Regions from separate parts of the Homo sapiens genome. Here all the other regions are linked to region 1. The links are contacts of gene promoters, found by promoter capture Hi-C in blood cells and fetal thymus (Javierre and others, 2016). All regions are on one chromosome and are shown on one strand. Each heading gives the region's core, a stretch centred on a gene start or on the middle of the fragment in contact. The rest is flanking DNA. Distances are from core to core; before and after follow the strand shown.

Region 1 (3,197 bases), core at 149-2,648:
TTCTGTGCTAGGCAATGTCTAGGTGTTGAAGAAACACTGTGAAAGGGATAAAATCTCTGTTTTCAAGGTACTGGGGAAAGAACAACATATGTATAAACAAACAAGATAATCTCAGGGAGTATTAGGTTCCATGAATAAAATACAACAGGGTAATGGATAATGGAACTTTATTTTTATTTTCATTTTTGAGAGGGAGTCTCACTCTGTCTGGAGTGCAGAGGGGTGATCTCGGCTGACTGCAACCTCCGCCTCCCGGGTTCAAGTGATTCTCCTGCCTCAGCTTCCCCAGTAGCTGGGACTACAGGTGTGCACTACCACGCCCGGCTAATTTTTGTAGTTTTAGTAGAGATGGGGTTTCACTATGTTGGCCAGGCTGGTCTCAAACTCCTGACTTCAGTGATCCGCCCGCCTCAGCCTCCTGAAGTGCTGGGATTACAGGCATGAGCCACTGTGCCCAGCTCATAATGGAACCGTAGATAGGCACAAGTCCTCTCTGAGTGGAATATTTGAAGCCAGAGGGAGTCAGCTATACGAATATCCAGAGCTATTCTGTAGCTCTGGATTGGCCACAAGAGGGTATTGAGCACTGGAATTCTGGCTAGTTTGTACTGAGATGCGCAGTAAATGTAAAATATACCCGAATTTCAAAAACTTACTATAAAAAAGTTAACATATTGTATTAGTAATTTTTTCTTTTGGCGACATGTTGAGATGATCATATTTTGAACATATTGGATTAAATATATTAAAATGAAGTTCATTTTCTTCTTTTTCGTTTAAAAAAAATGTACTAGCTAGTAAATGTGGATTGCCTATGTGGCTGGCATTGTGTTTCTATTGGTCTGAGGAGAAGGGTCCTAGGTAGAGACAACGGCAAAGGTACAGTTCCTGGGGCAGAAACTGAAGGATGCTGAGGCAGAGTCGGCCGGGGAAAAAGTGGCTGAAATGGGAAGGGACCAGATCCAGTGGGACCTTGGTGGCAGCTCTGTAAGGAGGTGGGTTTTAACTGAAGTACGGTGGGGACGCCGTTTTAAGCAGGGAAGGGCAGGGTCTGAATTAACAGGCCCCTGTGGCTGCGAAGTGGGGAACGGACTGTGGGTGAGTGGGCCAGACGGACGGCCAATCGCACCTTTCGCTTGGATGGAAGGCAGGGTGGTTGTAGGTGGGAAGAATCCTGGGTTCCCATGCTGTCTGAACCAGAGTCATTTGTGGCCCTGCCCTCCCCTGGGACTCAATTTCCCCACCTATAAAATAAGCCCCAGTGTCCGCGAACCCTGGAGGGGCCCGCACCACTGCAGGAGCGGCCGCCGGCGCCAGGGGGCGCCTCCTCGATAACTCGGCGCTCGGCTGGCCAGGCACCGGCGCGTCGGCCGCTCGATTGGTCGGGTCGGGGCCGGCCTGAGCGCCGCGGGCCTGCGCCATTGAGGAGCGGCGGGGAGGAAACGCCGCGCAGCGCCGGGCTGGGGCGGGCGGCCCGGGACACCGACAGGTAGGGGCCGAGCGGCTCCGTGCCGGGCGGGGCCAGGGTCGGGAACTGCAGGGCCGGCGCGGACCCGCGGGCCGCCGCTAGGGCTCCGCCTGGACATGGGGGCCCGGGCCCACCCTGGGGAGAGCGATGCTAGGAGCCTGGGGGCCCCGTCGTCCGGCCTCGGTCTGAGCCCCTCGGGGTAACCCTGGGCGTCTGCTCCCCCCGGGCCCCAAGCCCGCCACCTCCGGGGACCCCTGCGTCCGAGTCCCCGCGAGCTCCCCAAGCACAGGCTCGGGGCTGGCTGAACCTCTGGGAACCCCGACGTCCGTGTCCTGGGGAGCCCGAGCCCCCGCTGGACCCCGGCACACTTTCCGGGGTCCCAGCAGCCTGGCGCCCTGGAATTGGGGGGTGTCAGTCCGCGCCTGTCCGCCTGAGCCTTGGTCTCAATGCAGGACCCCAGTGTGCGAGCCCCCCACATTACGCCGAAGAGTGGGGTGTCAGTTCTCTAGAATGCCTTAGCCACCTCCCTTAATCAGCCACCCGAGGTCACACTCTCGCGTGGAGACATCAGGCCTAAAACCTCTCTTTACCTTTTGCCCCCCAGGGTCACGCCCTGGCCCAGCCACTCCTCCTAGGTGTGGGATGCCAGACATCAGGCCTAAAACCTCTCTTTACCTTTTACCCCCCAGGGTCACGCCCTGGCCCAGCCACTCCTCCTAGGTATGGGATCCCGGCGCCGTTCCCTCCAGGTTTTACTTGGGTGGTGGGGTCTCTGTCCCCTGGAGGGGGCTGAGGGTTCCGAGAGCTGGGGGCGGGAGGGTTGTGGGAGCGTCGCCTTCCGGGCAGTGCCGTTCCTGTGGGGCCACCGGTCGCACAGCCGTCCCCGCCCCGGTTTTGGAGCTCCCTGGCGCCGGCAGCGTTCAGCCCTGGCCGCCTCGGGGAGGGACGCCCAGGTCCGGTTGCCAGTCCTTCCTATTCCCGGTCTGGCCGCTCCTCAGGGGAGGGGCCTGGCTCAAGGTCATGCCCGGCTGTCTGCCCGCCCGTGGGCTCAGCACTGATCCCTACTGTCACCCGCCCCACTGGGTAGGGGAGCCCAGGTGGGGGTTAGTGCCAGTGCCAGGCAGCTGCCTAGAAGTCCTGATGGACCGGAGTGTAAACACTTTGGGACTCTGGCCAGTCTGGCGGCCCTTGCTGACACTGAATTCCTTCAGGGAATCCTTGAAGTGGCCTCAAGCACGGTCTAGATGCTTAGCAGAGCAAATAATGGGTGCTTTCTGGTTTGGGCCTCAATGTTACTGACCAGGTTGCCTCACAATGCTAATCACTCATGCTTTTAAAATCTGTGCTTTGCATTCTTTTCCGTTTAGGGCAAGTAGGGTAGGGCCTGAACTTGTTTACAAACTGACAGTTGTTTCCCTTGATTTGGAGATAATTGGTAATTGGCACTCAGAGTTGGCATTTAGGGCCGAAATTAGTGGCAATAACTACAAAAATAAAGAGTACTCTGACCTTGGCTTCTTGCTCAAATTTGTTTGGAGTCCCCATAGTAAGATTAGTCAGTTTCACATTTGGTTTTCACAAATTTACTCCTTTCAAGTTATAATAGTGGCCGGGCACGGTGGCTCACGCCTGTAATCCCAGCACTTTGGGAGGCCAAAGTGGGCAGATCGCTTAAGGTCAGGATTTCAGACCAGCCTGGCCAACATGATGAAACCCTGTCTCTACCAAA
Region 2 (3,158 bases), core at 431-2,930, 410 kb before region 1:
TGTGTAGAAGAGTAAAGGGCCAAAAGCAGTCAGTATAGTTCTAAATGACAAGAAGGTGGACTTGACCCTGTCAGATATCAAGTCTTATAAAATTAACAAGTTTGGGGAGTTAGGGAAAAAAAAGTCATAAAATTTAAGATACAGTCATTGAAATTGGTCATATTGGTGCAGGAATACCTAGACAGTGGAAAATGATAGAGAAGCAGAAGCTGGTCCTCACATACATGGAACTTTGGTGAATGACAGTTAATATTACAAATCAGTGAGGGAGTGATGAATGATTTAATAAAAGACGCTGTGTTATTTAATAAATAAAAGATACACATCTCTGTAGTCCCAGCTACTTAGGAGGTGAGCCCAGGAGTTTGAGGCTGTAATGCACCATGACTGTGCCTGGGCAGCATAGCAAGACCCTGTCTTAAAAAAAATGATGCTGGGACATGGGTGATCCATATGGAAAAATAGTTATATTCCTATTTCATACTATAAATAAGATAAATTCCAGATGAAGATGTAAATATGCAGAACAAAACTTCGGGAGACTATATGTTGTCAAGAGTGGGGAATAATTTCTTAAAACTCCAGAAGGCACAGACTATAAGAAAAAACATCAATGGGGCCGGACACAGTGGCTCACGCCTGTAATCCCAGCATTTTGGGAGGCAGAGGCAGGCGGATCACAAGGTCAGGAGATTGAGACCATCCTGGCTAACACGGTGAAACCCCGTCTCTACTAAAAATACAAAAAAATTAGCTGGGCGTGGCGGTGTGCGCCTGTAGTCCCAGATGCTGGGGAGGCTGAGGCAGGAGAATGGCATGAACCTGGGAGGCGGAGCTTGCAGTAAGCCAAGATCACGCCACTGCACTCCAGCCTGGGTGACAGAGCAAGACTCCGTCTCAAAAACAAACAAACAAAAACATCAATGGCTGGGTGCAGTGGCTCATGCCTGTAATCTCAGGACTTTGGGAGGCCGAGGCAGGCAGATCACCTGAGGTCAGGAGTTCAAGGCCAGCCTGGCTAACATGACAAAACCCCATCTCTACTAAAAGTACAAAAAATTAGCTGGGCATGGTGGCGGGTGCCTGTAATCCCAGCTACTTGGAAGGCTGAGGTGGGAGAATCGCTTGAACCCGGGAGACAGAGGCTGCAGTGAGCCGAGATCGCGCCATTGCACTCCAGCCTGGGCAATGAGAGCAAAACTGTCTCAAAAAACAACAACAAAAAAAAAAAACAAACAAAATCAATAAATTTGACCACATCAAAGTACATATTGTATTTATAAAGACAAAAACTCCAAATAACAACAATAAAACACCATAAATAAAGTGAAAACAAGTCCACAGCCTGAGAGAGGTTATTTACTATGCATTTAAGAGGCAGATAATTAGTATCCAGAATACAGGAAGAGGCTGGGCGCGGTGGCTGACGCCTGTAATCCCAGCACTTTGGGAGGCCGAGGCAGGCGGATCACTTGAGGTCAGGAGTTCAAGACCAGCCTGGCCAACATGGTGAAACCCTGTCTCTACTAAAAATACAAATTGAGCTGAGTGTGGTGGTGTGCACCTTTAGTCCAGATACTTGGGAGGCAGAGGCAGGAGAATCACTTGAACCCAGGAGGCGGAGGTTGCAGTGAGCCGAGATTGCAACACTGTACTCCAGCCTGGGTGACAGAATGAGACTCTGATTCAGAACAAATAATACAGGAAGAACTCCTGCAACTCAATCAGAAAAACAACAGATGGTCCAATGGAAGGAAAACGAGCAAAGGATGTGAACTGGAATTCTCAAAAGAGAAAAACTGGCCAGTAAACCTCTAGAAAAAGGAAGGTGCACATTCCTGTGACTCATACATTCCTCTTAGAAATTTGAACCGTAGACATGTACAAAGGTGGTAATTATAGCTTTATGATAGCAAAAAGCTGGAGTCACCAAATGGGAGAATGGAAAAATTATGGTACATTCATATGGTATCATTTTAGACATCATGTCATTTCTGTAGATTGTAAAATAAAAATTTTAGACAAGTGAAAGTGAACGAACCACAGAGTTGTGTGTATCAACATGGCTAATTCTCAAAGACTTAATGTTGAGAAAAAAAGAGCAAGTTACAGAATATACAAGTGCCGTGTACAACAGTGTGGACACTTTTGAAATACACACAATAATTTCAGGTTAGTGGTTTCTCCCAGGGGAGAGAGGAAGGAAAACTGTTTTTTTTTTTGTTTTGTTTTGTTTCTTAAAATGGTACTGAATGTTTTCTTTTTTAAAAATACCTGGAGCATATATGGCATGTTGTTGAGATTTGTTAAAGCTACAGTTGTGAGGGTATGGGTATTCGTTACTTTTTGTAATGTTTGAAGTATTTCCTAATGTCAAAGGCATCTCAAACAATTTTTTCTTTTTTTTAAGAGATGAGGCCTCACACTGTTGCCTAGGCTGGAATGCAGTGGTGCAATGACAGCTCACTGCAGCCTCAGCCTCCCAGGCTCAAGCGATCCTCCCACCTCAGCTTCTTGAGTAGCTGGGACCATAGGCATATACCTTTTGTACTTTTTGTAGCGACATGGTCTCACTACATTGCCCAGGCTGGCCTCCAACTCTTAGGCTCAAGTGATCCTCCTGCCTCAGCCTCCCAAAGTGTTGGGATTACAGGCATGAGCCATTGCACCCAGTCATCTCAGGCAGTTTTTAAAAAATTTTTATATATAGAGAAAAAGTGCACTCAGCAGCCAGCATGATCCAAAGGAGAAGCAGCTGCACCCTCTCAAGTGATGACGGGGACACCCCTCGGCTGATGAACAAGTTTCCTTAACCCAGTTTCCGCAGCGGTGGAGGAGTGCAGCCAGAAAGGCTGCCTCGCTCTGTCTCTCCTTGAACTCCTGGGTTTTAACCTCACCTTTGTCTTCCTGGCAAGCCTCCTTGTTCTCATTGAGGTGAGGTGGTTTGGATTCACCTGCTCGCTTAGGAGGTTTTAGAGTCCCGCACTCCTTTTCCCCACCTCCTTCCAGAATGTCAGGAAACTGAGAATGCAGATTCCTGCAGAAAGTGGCCTCTTGTTCACTAAAGGTAAAGGTTTCACCTCTGGTGAGATTAAAGAAGAAAGGCCTCCCAGGTGATGCTCATTCACAGGGAACTTGTACAGATTCTGGGGGGAGGA
Region 3 (3,246 bases), core at 639-3,138, 410 kb after region 1:
CAGCATAGGGCACTGCCTGTGGCCTAGGGAATGGGATGGGGTGGGGAGAGGGCACTGAGGGTGGGGATTTCCACAGCTTGGTGAGGCCATGGGTGTTCTGGTGGGGGACCGGCCTCACCCCATCTTCCCCAGATAGCTTGGGGCTTCCTGGGGATGCCAAACACAGACAACTGCTGAGAAATGTTGGCTGTCACTCTTTCTCCCTCCTGCCCCTTCCAAGGTTGTGGACATAGCAGGATGGACTTTTTTTGCTGTAAGTGACAAAAGGGTAATTATGCGGTGAGCCGGCTGTGTGCTGGGTACAGGGAGGTTGATCTGCCACCCAGAACACCTTGTTTTTCCTCTCTGGACTCTGTTTTGGAACATTGGTTCAACCCCCCACCCCCCTCAGTTGTACTTTCTGTGTCTCCAGTTTTTAATTCCAGAAAGGCACAGCCTCCATAAGTTCAAGTCTGTCTGTCCATCCATCCATCTGTCAGACCTGATAAAAGAAAAACTTCAGCCAAATTAAATTTAAAGGAGTTTAATTGAGAAATGAATGATTCATGAATAAGGCAGCCCCCAGAATCATGGGAGATTCACAGAGACTCCAGTGGAGCCACGTGGTGGAAGAAGATTTCTTTTTTTTTTTTTTTTGAGATGGAGACTCCCTGTGACACCCAGACTGGAGTGCAATGGTGCCATCACTGTTCACTGCAATCTCCACCTCCCAGGTTCAAATGATTCTCCTGCCTCAGCCTCCCGAGTTGCTGAGACTACAGGTGCGTGCCACCACATCCAGCTAATTTTTGTATTTTTAGAAGAGACAAGGTTTCACCATATTGGCCAGGCTGGTCTCAAACTCCTGACCTCAAGTGATAAAAAAGCTCATCAACTAATTTTTTTTTTTTTTTTTTTTGAGATGGGGTCTCACTCTGTTGCCTAGGCTGGTCTCGAACTCCTAGGCTCAAACAATCCTGCCTCGGCCTCCCAAAGTGCCAGGATTACAGGCATGAGCCACCAATCTGGCCACGTGGTAGAAGATTTACAGACAAAAAAAAGGGAAGAGAGGTACAGAAATTGGCAGCGAGGTACCGAAACAGGATGGCCTTTGCCTTATTTGAACACAGTTTGAACACTTGGCAGGCTCTGAGTGGTTGAAGTTTGGCCGCTGGGATTGGCCAAGACTCAGTTATTGTTACAAGCGCATACTTCTATGTTAGGTTTTCAATCTTGTCTAACTATTAAGCTGGTTACAGTATGTCTACGGGGACTCAAATATGGAAGTATGGAGTCCTTCTCAGGCCATATTTAGTTTGCTTTAACAGACCTGAGAGGAGACAGGGCAGTGCTTGGGCTCTGGGCTGAGCCCTTCTACCTCTGGCTCTATGAATGTGGGCGAGTGAGTCTGGCATTCTGGGGCTTGGTATCCTCATCTGTGAAGTAGGGATCACGCCAGTACCTTCCTCTAGGGTGTTGCAGACATTGAACAAATTCCTACAGGTAAGGCACTTCACAGCTGTGCCTGGGCCATTGCAGACACTTAACCAATGTTGGACTTAGTTATTTTTGTTGCCGTTATTGTTACATTGGAATATGGGAACCTGTATGAAATTAACACACAGCCTCACACACTTGCTAGAAACCTCTTTCCCTTTGGGAATGATCTTGGGAAAGTGAGGCAATCTTGTAGAGTGTGAGTTTCATCTCCATGTGCTTACCTCAGAGGGCTGTTGGTAGGACACTGCTTGGCACACAAGGAGTCCTCAGTAAATGGCAACTATTTATTAGTTGAATTACTGCCTCGAGTACCTAGAGTGCTAGCCACAAGCAACCCCACCAGATGTGCCAAATAGCTCGTGCATCCTTACCTCTTCTGGGCTTTTGGAAATATCAGGATAATACCACATACCCCCATTGCTGTCCTCACAGATCCCTGAGGTCTAAAATCCCTCATCCAAGCCACATGGAGTGGAGGTCATGAGAAGGGAAGGGTTTGGGAGATTAGAACCTAAAGCTCATTAGAATTTTCCTTCTTTTCCTTTCTTTCTTTCTTTCTTTCTTTCTTTCTTTCTTTCTTTCTTTCTTTCTTTCTTTCTTTCTTCTTTCTTTCTTTCTTTCTTCTCTCTCTTTCTTTCTCTCTTTCTTCTTTCTCTTTTTCTTTCTTCTTTCTCCCTTCCTTCCTTCCTTCCTTCTCTCTGTCTTTCTTTTCTTTTCTTTTTTTTTTTTTTGAGACAGGATCTCTCTCTGTCACCCCAGGCTGTCATGCAGTGGTGTGATCACAGCTCACTGCAGCCTCAACCTCCCGGGCTCAAGTGATCCTTGCACCTCAGCCTCCCGAGTAGCTGGAACTACAGGCGTGTGCCACCATGCCCCACTGATTTTAAACATTTTTTTTTCTTGGAAATGGGGTCTCACTCTATTGCCCAGGCTGGTCTCAAACTTCTGGGTTCAAGTGATCCTCCTTCCTTGGCCTCCCAAAGTGCTGGGATTACAGGCATGAGTGCTTGGCCTACTGAATAATATTTTGTTGCATAGATGTGATAGTTAGTGCTAGCTATCAACTCGACTGGGTTAAGGAATACCTAGAAACCTGGTCAAGCATCATTTTTGGGTGTCTCTATGAGGGGGTTTCCATTGATTAGCATGTGAATCTGAGTGAACTAGGTGGGTAAGATCTGCCCTCAAGGTGGGCGGCCACCATCTAATCTGCTGGGGGTCCAGAGAGAATCAAAACAAAGAAAAGCCTAATGTGTTCATGTATCTGCTGGAGCTTGAATGTACTCTTCCTCTCTTATACTTGGACAGCAACTCCAGGCTCTCTGGCTTTTTAACTCTAGGACTTGCACCAGTGGTACCCCGTGCCCCCTGAGTTCTCAGGCATTTGGCCTTGGATAGAGAATTACACCATCAGCTTCCCTGGTTCTGAGGCCTTTGGACTTGGACTGATCCACGCTACCAGCATCCCAGGGTTTCCAGCTTGCAGTTGACCTGTTGTGGGACTTCTCAGCCTCCATAACTGTGTAAGCCAATTCCCCTAATAAATCCCCGCTTATAGCTCTCTCTCTATGTCCTATTGGTTTGATCTTTCTGGAGAACCCTGATACAATATATATACCACATTGTTTACCTGTTCACCGGTTGATGGACATTTGGATTGTCTCCACTTTTGGGGTATTATAAATAATGTTGCTCTGACCATTTATAGATAGGGTTTTGTGTAGACACATGTTTTCAATTCTCTTGTGTATATACCTAAAGTGGACT
Region 4 (2,820 bases), core at 92-2,591, 440 kb after region 1:
GCCTATGTCCCGAATGGTATTGCCTAGGCTTTCTTCCAGGGTTTTTATGGTTTTGGGTTTTACATTTAAGTCTTTAATCCATCTTGAGTTAATTTTTGTATAAGGTGTAAGGAAGGGGTCCAGTTTCAGTTTTCTGCATATGGCTAGCCAGCTTTCCCAGCACCATTTATTAAATAGGGAATCCTTTCCCCTGTTGCTTGTTTTTGTCAGGTTTGTCAAAGATCAGATGGATGTAGATGTGTGGTGTTATTTCTGAGGTCTGTGTTCTCTTCCACTGGTTTATGTGTCTGTTTTGGTATCAGTACCATGTTGTTTTGGTTACCGTAGCCTTGTGGTATAGTTTGAAGTCAGGTAGCATGATACTTCCAACTTTGTTATTTTTGCTTAGGATTGCCTTGACTATATGGGCTCTTTTTTGGTTCCATAGGAAATTTAAGTAGTTTTTTCTAATCCTGTGAAGAATGTCAATAGTAGTTTGATGGGAATAGCATTGAATCTATAAATTACTTTGGGCAGTATGGCCATTTTCATGACTTTGATTCTTCCTATCCATGAGGATGGGCAAAGGATATGAACAGACACTTCTCAAAAGAAGACATTTATGCAGCCAATGAACATATGAAAAAAACTCAACATCACTGATAATTAGAGAAATGCAAGTGAAAATCACAACGAGATACCATCTTATGCCAGACAGAATGGAAATTATTAAAAAGTCAAGAAACAATTGATGCTGGTGAGGCTGTGGAGAAATAGGAACACTTTTACATTGTTGGTGGGAATGTAAATTAGTTCAACCATTGTGGAAGACAATGTGGGGATTCCTCAAGAATCTAGAACCAGAAATACCATTTGACCCAGCAATCTCATTATTGAGTATATACCCAAAGGAATATAAATCATTCTACTATAAAGGCACATGCACACTTAATGCACACTTATGTTTATTGTGGCACTAATCACAATAGCAAAGACACAGAACCAATCCAAATGCCTATCAGTGAGAGACTGGACAAAGAAAATGTGGTACATATCACCATGGAATACTTTGCAGCCATAAAAAAGAATGAGTTCATGTCCTTTGTAGGGACATGGATGAAGCTGGAAGCCATCATTCTCAGCAAACTAACAGAGGACAGGAAAGCAAACACCGTATGTTTTTACTCGTAAGTGGGAGTTGAACAATGAGAACACATGAACACAGGGAGGGGAACAACACACATCAGCGCCTGTCAGGGGGTGGGGGGCAAGGGGAGGGAGAGCATTAGGAAAAACACCAAATGCACGTGGGGCTTAAAACTTAGATGACGGGTTGCTAGGTGCAGCAAACCACCATGGCACCTGTATACCTAACTAACAAACCTGCACATTCTGCACATGTATCCCAGAATTTAAAGTTACAAAAAAAAAAAAGATAATAGGGAAAAGGTTAGGCAGGTTTTCTTGCTTATAGAAGATTTGGAGTCCCTGAAGGTCAGAGTTCCTCACCTGTGATGCACCCCTACCATGCACACCATCCACCTGGGCTTCTCTGTGTCATTCCCATGGGATCTGGGAGGCAAGGAGAACCAACGCTAATGTGAAGTTCATTCTGTTTGCCATGCTATACATAATAATAATCTTTGAATCTGAGCCTGACATCTCATGTTTTCTGGCAGTATCCATGAAACTGTGGATAGTTTATTGTTTGCAAGTAGACTTATTAGTCTTATTATTTTGCAAGTAGGATAAAATATTAGTTTGCAAGTAGGATAAAAATCTGAGACCTATTCCCCAGTTCTTGACATACCCTTGACATAGTTCTATTTTGTCACCTGAAACAATGTTTGCTTGTTTGTTTTTTTTTGAGACAGAGTCTCACCCTGTTGCCCAGGCTGGAGTGCAGTGGCCCGATCTTGGCTCACTGCAAGCTCCACCTCCTGGGTTCATGCCATTCTCCTGCCTCAGCCTCCCCAGTAGCTGGAACTACAGACGCCCGCCACCATGCCTGGCTAATTTTTTTTTTTGTATTTTTAGTAGAGACGAGGTTTCACCGTGTTAGCCAGGATGGTCTCGATCTCCTGACCTTGTGATCCACCTGCCTTGGCCTCCCAAAGTGCTGGGATTACAGGCCTGAGCCACCGCCCCTGGCCAACAATGTTAAGGTTTGTCAGTAGAAGGTGCTGGAGAAATATTGGAAAAGGGCGGGCTTCTCGTCTTAGTTCTGGTGTACTCTTCTTGCCAGATGTCTGCAGTTTGTGTTTTCTCTACCACGGTTTCCTGCAGCATTCAGTTTTGCCAACATGTGGGGCCCACTGAGAAAGGCTTCTCTGATGTCTAGCTCCTACAGTACCCAGCGGCCATCACACTCAGTGACCAGCAGCCTCCTTTGGTAACATTCAGATGGTTTTGCAGCAGAGTGTCACCAACTAGACACTCTCCCATGAATGGCTTTTTGGCACCTTTTCTAGTTACCTATGACCATGTCCTCTAAAATAAGGTCAGATCTTGACCTAGGAGCAGTGGCTGTTCTTTATATCTGTGACTCCCTGTTTCTGTCTCCTGGGTTGAACCTAACACAGAATCTAAAGTACTTGCTACTTTCTGCTCATATGATCCAGTCAGCACAATGTCACTGATGTATCAGATCAGTGTGATGTTTACAGGAATATCATGATCCTCATCTCTGAAGAGTATATTATGGCAGAAAACAGAATTGACATAGCCCTGAGGTGAGAATGTAAAGGTATACTGTTAGCCCTGCTAGATAAAGGCAGGTGGCTTGTGGTATTCCTTACAAAATTGGTATGGAACAAAAGGCATCTGCCAGGTCAGTAGCTG
Region 5 (3,212 bases), core at 699-3,198, 260 kb after region 1:
AGGTGCGACCATGCATAGAAGAGACAAGAATCCCTGGTTCCGCATGGCTTCCCTCAACACCTACGTTTCCAGGCCATGGCTTGGGTTCAGAAGAATCACCCTCCCTGGAAGAGATGAGTGACTGGAAGGAGAGCATGTCACTGGCTCCCCTGAGACCCTCCCAAGAGCCTCAGTTTCTCCCTCTACCACCTGAAGTCTAACTGCAGGGCCTGAAACAGATTCTCTTTAAAAACCCATGAGTGTGGTGACTGCATAGGTTTTCATTCTCCTGAGTTCTTAATTTCCGTGTCCCTAGCACTTTTTGAAGCATCTGCTCCTGTTGCCCCTTTCTTTTCCTCCTCACCCTCCTCCATAGTCTCTGTTTGATAGTAGAAGGAGATTTAAAACCTCCAGGCTGAGTGAACAGGCGGTCTTGAAAAAGCAAACAAATCGGGTCAGGCACGGTGGCTCACGCCTGTAATCCCCAGCACTTTGGGAGGCCGAGGTGGGCGGATCACAAGGTCAGGAGTTCGAGACCAGCCTGGCCAATATGGTGAAACCCCGTCTCTACTAAAAATACAAAAAAATTAGCCGGGCATGGTGCCGTATACCTGTAATCCCAGCTACTTGGGAGGCTGAGGCAGGAGAATTGCTTGAACCCAGGAGGTGGAGGTTGCAGTGAGCCGAGATCACACCACTACACTGCAGCCTGGGCGACAGAGCGAGATTCCATCTCAAAAAAAAAAAAAAAGCAAACAAATCACAAAGCAGGTCCCCTCTGGGGGCTGGAGCATCCTCATATCTGCTTGGCTTTGGTCACTGAAAGAGGCCCTGGGGGAGGGGGCTTCAGGGCTTCCCAGGGGAGAGGTGACAGTTAGGACACACGCCTCCCCCACTTCAGTCAAGGCAGCTTCATTGTCAGCGGTTGTACGTACTAAGATTGTGTTACAAACTTCATTTGCAGAAAGTGTTTTACCCCTGAAATTTTTTTTTGAAAGCGCCTGCTGTGAGTTTTATTAATGGCACTTTTCTAAAACTTCATTAATTTCAATTATGAGAATTTGATATCTGGTGTAATTCATTGAGCTGCTAGTTTGATTTGCTCTAGCTCGTTTTAAAAAGCTCTGTCAGGCAACAGGATATGGATGGGAGTGGGTCAGGTGAGTGAAAACGTTTTAAGCACTCCTTTCTTCAGAAAACACCTCTGTACCCACATGGGGTGTGCTCCTCAGGAGTCATTCAGACAGGTCCAGGAGAACTTGTCCCCCAGGGTGCTCCGTCCAGATACAATTTTAAATACTGCACTTTCGCATTTTGGTATTTTCAATGGACTTGACACCCAATAATTCTGAATAAAGGTAGGAAAGAGGGAGATGATTAACTTTTACAAGTACCTACTATGTGCCAGGCACTATGCTACACATTCTTCATATTTTATCTCAACATTATCAACCAAGTAGGTATTAAGTTCTCACCTATTGATGAGGAATCTGAGGCTAAGAACAATCTAGTAACTTCTTCAGTGTCACCCAGCTAATAAGTGACTGGGATTTCAGCCTGTGTTTGTCTTTTTCCAGTCTATGTTTGTTCCTTTATACTACTTTGTTCTTAAATTTCATCTCTTCTCTTAAAAGAGGTCAACTTTGGGAGAAGGTAGATAATATATAAACATTGAAAGAAAAAGATTATATAATCATTTGCCAGAAATAAATCTGAAAATATTGGGCTGGACACGGTGGCCCACACCTGCAATCCCAGCACTTTCAGAGGCTAAGGCAGGAAAATCATTTGAACCAAAAAAAAAAAAAAAAAAAAAAAGTAGTGAAAATGTATGGTTTATTAATGTAATCAGCTTGTTATTATTAGCATGCGTACTTAATAGCCACAAAATAAAGCTTACCAGAGATGGTGTATTTCGGTCCTTGTGAAATATCTTGGGATTGGCATTAGAGGTGACAGGTTAGCAAGGAATTTGATAATGGCTTGAGAGATTCCAATAAGCACTACACTCTCTGACTCAGAATGTTCTACTTAGAACACAAAGAAAGCTTACAATTGTAAAGCGCCTTGTTCTTCCATGATGTTGAAAGTTGCAAACCACTTTATAGGTTGTCTACTATTTTGTAAAAGCAAAGCAAACCCAGAATGCATGCAAAAATTATGGCCTTTAAAGAAATCCAAGCCTTTTAGGCTCCATTCTTACTATAACATGATCTATTTTCTTGGAATTCTTTATAAAGTAACTCTGCCCCTCCCCACCCAGCCATTAACAGGTAGTCTCGCCCCTGAGGCAGTTGACTAAGAAAAAAAATCTGGAGTATTTTTGTCTTAGAGTTTAAATCCCAATAGGTGTATCTGTTGGCATTAGTCCTACCAGCTGTCACAGTTGCAGTGTCATGGGGTCCCCAAAACATGTGTTAAATTATGGGAAGCCTTGACCCCTATAAACAAGTCAGGTGTGAATCCCACTGATGGGAGAAAACCCAGCCCAGGAAATGTCATCCCTGCTGCTGGATGTCAAATTGCTAAAAACTTAACAATATCAATATAATTTCTAATGATTTCTTGAATCAACATCTTTCTTACATTTTCAATGGCAATAGTACAACATGGGATTTTATGTGTGTTATGCATGTATGACTTGAGAACTCTAGGGAGAGGTAAGTAGAATGTTAACAAGAAAGCAAAGGGGAAAGGAAAATACTTCAGTTTGAAGCAGTGAGCCTCCCCAGTAGGAAAACTAAGTACAAGAGGTTGGATGTTACACCCTAGCCCATCTTAGATCCCAGACACCTCAACTAGGGTTCCTCGTGTGCACCCATGGCACTCTAAATAATACACTAATAAAAAGAATAGGTAGCATTTTATCGAGTGCCTATTATGTGCTAGACTCTGTTCTAAGCACTGTACATGTATTGACTTATCTACTCCTCACAACAACCCATCATTACCCCCACTTTATAGATGAGAAAACCATCGCTCCAAGAAGTCACATAATTTGCCTGTGGTTACAGTTCGTAAGTGGTGGAGCTGGGATTCAAACCCACTGGGCAGGCTGGCTCCAGAGCCGATCCTCTCAGCCATTATATTATGCTGCCTACTCTAGTGCTCCCTGTCTCTCCTACTGCTTCCCTGCTGTGTTCTTGTTGCCATTTCTGTTCATCTCCTCCACTGAATTGCTGTAAGCTCCCTGGATACTTAATTCATCCCAGTCTTCTTCAGGACCTAGTGCT
Region 6 (3,148 bases), core at 521-3,020, 300 kb before region 1:
TTTCTTTTCTTTAACAGTCAACGAGAGGAGAGTTTTCATCGGGCGGGAGCATCTCAACCTGCTAAAAGGGATTCTCCAACCTCCCTGTGAACCAGTTGCAGCCACAACTGCCAGGACGCACCTCAGCCTAGCAGGGGTTATGTCAAGAAGCCCACGTCTGTCACCAGGCCGACTGCGGTGCTGAGCAAAGAATCAGGGGATCCACCTGCTGGTTTCACCTCTGCAAACTGACTCTAAAACACTTCACTCTGCTCACATCAGGCCCCATCTACCAAAACAAGTAACAGAAAGAATTGACCTTTACACTCAATTGTCCACTACAGTCTCATAAAAACCTTCTGAGGTAGGCGTTATTGTTATTAAATACAGGCCCAGAGAGATTAGGCGACGAATCCAAAGGTCGCACAGACACTAAGCAGTTGAGCAGATTCAACCACTGGTGAAACGCCAAGCCCAAGTTTCAACCACCCCACCATCACCTTCAGTGTCACCTCTGCAGACTTGGGAGGGACATATCTAGGGTGGACCAAGCGCTGGCCAGGACTCACCTGGGCTGAAGAGCTGAGCCCAGAGGAGCTGGTGGTCTTGAAGCAGCTCCGCCGCTGGCATGTCCAAGAGCTCCAGCATTTCCTTCCGTGCCAAGTCCTGCAGCGCCTTGAGCTCCTTGGCTGCTTTGCTTTTGAGCACCTGGGGGTTAATGGGGCCAGAGACGTGCACCACCCACAGCACCGTCTCATCCAGCTGCGTCTTGGGAGCCACTTGGAGGCGGTTCACCAGCTTCTTGGCGGCCACCACCACCAGGTGCACCAACCCAGTGGGCGTAGGCGGGGACCGGCCTGAGTAGAGGAGGAACTGATGGTCTCCGACCTTCTCCAGGGTACTGGTGAAGGCCTTGGGGGCTGGGCCGGCAGTGGGCCCCACAGTCTGCAGCGCGGCCACGCGCTCCGTGGGGTTGTTGAGCTGGATGCGCTGCAGGTAGACGTGGGGTCGGCCCCTGTGCGCCAGAAAGTCCTCTTGCAGCAGCACGCAGTCGCGGCCGGACCCCGCGGCAAGGCCAGAGACGGAGGCGGGCCCGGGGCCGGCGGCCACGGGGCCAGGACCTGGGGACCCCAGCTGCAGGCAACGCACGCGGCGCAGAAGCCCCTCCCGCAGCAGCAGCACCGCCTCTCCAGCTTCAGCCAGCGCGCTCAGCGGGCGCAGCTGCACGAAGGGCACAAAGTCCGGCGCCACGGCGGGCTCCCGCTCCCCGGGAGTCACCCACAGCCGATTGGCAGCCACGTCCAGGGCCAGGAAGCCGTTGGCCACCAGGGCCGGCACTCCAGGACCCAGCGGTACCACCTCACCGCGCTCCCGCAGGCCGCGCCAGGCGCGGGTGGCCGCCTCCAGGCAGGCAGACGGCTCGGCGGCGCCCGGCTCACCGCGGGACCAGGGCAGCAGGTGCAGGCCGCCCGCCGCCCGCCGCGCGCCGGACCCCCCAAACCACAGAAGCAGCAGCAGGAGGCCAAGCAGGCAGAGGAGGCGGCGGGCCCAGCTGCTCGACAGCAGTCCCGGCAGCCCCTTGAGCCGCTGCTGCAGCCACATCGGGCCGCCAGGCGCGGGCAAGGGTGCGAGGGCGGCCGCCGGGCCCGCCGCCCAGCCCACCGGCCCGGCCGCCCGCGCCTCACTGCCCGGCCCGGACCGCGGCGCCCACCCCGGCCCCCGCCGCAACCGCCGCAGCAGCCGCCACCCCTGCTTCCTCCTTCTTCTCGGTGGCCTCCAGCCGTCAAACGACGCCGGCGGTCAAGCGTCGCCGTGTCTTTTACGACAGATGGAAAACGGGAGGGCGGAGGGAGGAGAGAGAGCAGGCCGGAGAGAAGGGGGCGGAGCCACGGCGAGGGCGGGACAAAAGCTGCCGGGGGCGGGACCACTCGTTCCCAGGCCGGAAGAGTGAAGTCCAGTGGAGTTAAGTGCAGGGGTCTGGGGAGGACTGGAAGCATCCAATTCACTCGTGAAAAAAACATCGAGCCAGCCAAACCGAACACGTGTTGGGCCCCTTTGCTACTGATGGATTCAACAGCCCCAAAATTTAAAAACATACACACACACACACACAACAACTTTGTTTCTGTAAAAATGACCATCCTCTCGCCGCGCGCGGTGGCTCACGCCTGTAATCCCAGCACTTTGGGAGGCCAAGGCGGGCGGATCACGAGGTCAGCAGTTTGAGACCAGCCTGACCAACATGGTGAAACCCCATCTCTACTAAAAATACAAAAACTAGCCGGGCGTGGTGGCGCATGCCTGTAATCCCTGCTCCTCAGGAGGCTGAGGTAGGAGAACTGCTTGAACCCGTGAGGCGGAGGTTGCAGGCTTGCAGTGAGCCGAGATCACGCCACTGCACTCCAGCCTGGGCGACAGAGTGAGACTCTGTCTCAAAAAAAAAAAAAAAAAAAAAGACTATCCTCACTGCAAAAAAACACTTGGAACAATACGAAAAAGTGGAGGAAAAAAAAAGGAGAGAGAAGAAGAGGAAGAAAGAAGAAGAAAGGAAAAGGGAGGAGGAGGGGAAGGGGAACCACCAGAGGCCAGGAGTGGTGGCTCACGTCTGTAATTCCAGCACTTTAGGAGGCTGAGATGGGCAAATCACTTGAGGTCAGGAGTTCGAAACCAGCCTGACCAACATGGTGAAAACCTGTCTCTACTAAAAATACAAAAATTAGGCTGGGCACGGTGGCTCACGCCTGTAATCCCAGCATTTTGGGAGGCCGAGGCCGCCAGATCACGAGATCAGGAGATCGAGACCATCCTGGCTAACACGGTGAAACCCTGTCTCTACTAAAAATATAAAAAATTAGCCAGGCGTGGTGGCAGGCGCCTGTAGTCCCAGCTACTCGGGAGGCTGAGGCAGGAGAATGGCGTGAACCCGGGAGGCGGTGCTTGCAGTGAGCCAAGATCGCGCCACTGCACTCCAGCCTGGGTGACAGAGGGAGACTCTGTCTCAAAAAAAAAAAAATAAATAAATAAAAATAAAAAAATAAAAATGCAAAAATTAGCTGGGCGTGGTGGTGGGCGCCTGTAATCCCAGCTACTTGAGAGACTGAGGCACGAGAATCGCTTGAACCAGGGAGGCAGAGGTTGCAGTGAGCCGAGATCGCGCCACTGCACTCCA

The links. The method cuts DNA at HindIII sites, captures the fragments that hold promoters and counts their contacts. A CHiCAGO score of 5 or more calls a contact.
Region 2: a fragment that was not itself captured here is called in contact with the fragment with the promoter of VPS13D in region 1 in 2 of 17 cell types (neutrophils and activated CD4 T cells); the score reaches 6.5 in neutrophils.
Region 3: a fragment that was not itself captured here is called in contact with the fragment with the promoter of VPS13D in region 1 in 12 of 17 cell types (non-activated CD4 T cells, endothelial precursors, erythroblasts and 9 more); the score reaches 7.6 in non-activated CD4 T cells.
Region 4: a contact is called between a fragment that was not itself captured here and the fragment with the promoter of VPS13D in region 1, in 1 of 17 cell types (endothelial precursors). The highest score is 5.1, in endothelial precursors.
Region 5: a fragment that was not itself captured here is called in contact with the fragment with the promoter of VPS13D in region 1 in 1 of 17 cell types (M1 macrophages); the score reaches 5.7 in M1 macrophages.
Region 6: a contact is called between the fragment with the promoter of KIAA2013 here and the fragment with the promoter of VPS13D in region 1, in 1 of 17 cell types (neutrophils). The highest score is 5.5, in neutrophils.

Annotation. Positions count from the first base shown.
Region 1 is chr1:12,228,632-12,231,828 of GRCh38, forward strand. It overlaps VPS13D (vacuolar protein sorting 13 homolog D), which reads left to right and starts at 1,399. Exons shown (of 70, transcript NM_015378.4): 1 at 1,399-1,489. RefSeq lists an enhancer at 1,148-2,078 and silencers at 1,224-1,753, 1,290-1,458. The HindIII fragment of the contact is 6,412 bases long and covers 1-3,197 here.
Region 2 is chr1:11,819,868-11,823,025 of GRCh38, forward strand. It overlaps CLCN6 (chloride voltage-gated channel 6), which reads left to right. Exons shown (of 23, transcript NM_001286.5): 6 at 2,828-2,934. Among named protein-coding and RNA genes, the nearest start is that of CLCN6, 15 kb to the left of the region's middle. The HindIII fragment of the contact is 5,075 bases long and covers 1-3,158 here.
Region 3 is chr1:12,636,809-12,640,054 of GRCh38, forward strand. No RefSeq gene overlaps it. Among named protein-coding and RNA genes, the nearest start is that of AADACL4, 5.7 kb to the right of the region's middle. The HindIII fragment of the contact is 4,411 bases long and covers 1-3,246 here.
Region 4 is chr1:12,671,827-12,674,646 of GRCh38, forward strand. No RefSeq gene overlaps it. Among named protein-coding and RNA genes, the nearest start is that of AADACL4, 29 kb to the left of the region's middle. The HindIII fragment of the contact is 9,462 bases long and covers 1-2,820 here.
Region 5 is chr1:12,486,896-12,490,107 of GRCh38, forward strand. All of the region lies in intron 67 of VPS13D (vacuolar protein sorting 13 homolog D), which reads left to right. Among named protein-coding and RNA genes, the nearest start is that of SNORA59A, 19 kb to the right of the region's middle. The HindIII fragment of the contact is 153 bases long and covers 1,873-2,025 here.
Region 6 is chr1:11,924,657-11,927,804 of GRCh38, forward strand. KIAA2013 reads right to left here and starts at 1,771. Exons shown (of 3, transcript NM_138346.3): 1 at 549-1,771. The coding sequence starts at 1,581. RefSeq lists enhancers at 715-1,377, 1,378-2,041, 1,696-1,990 and a silencer at 1,626-1,695. The HindIII fragment of the contact is 9,969 bases long and covers 1-3,148 here.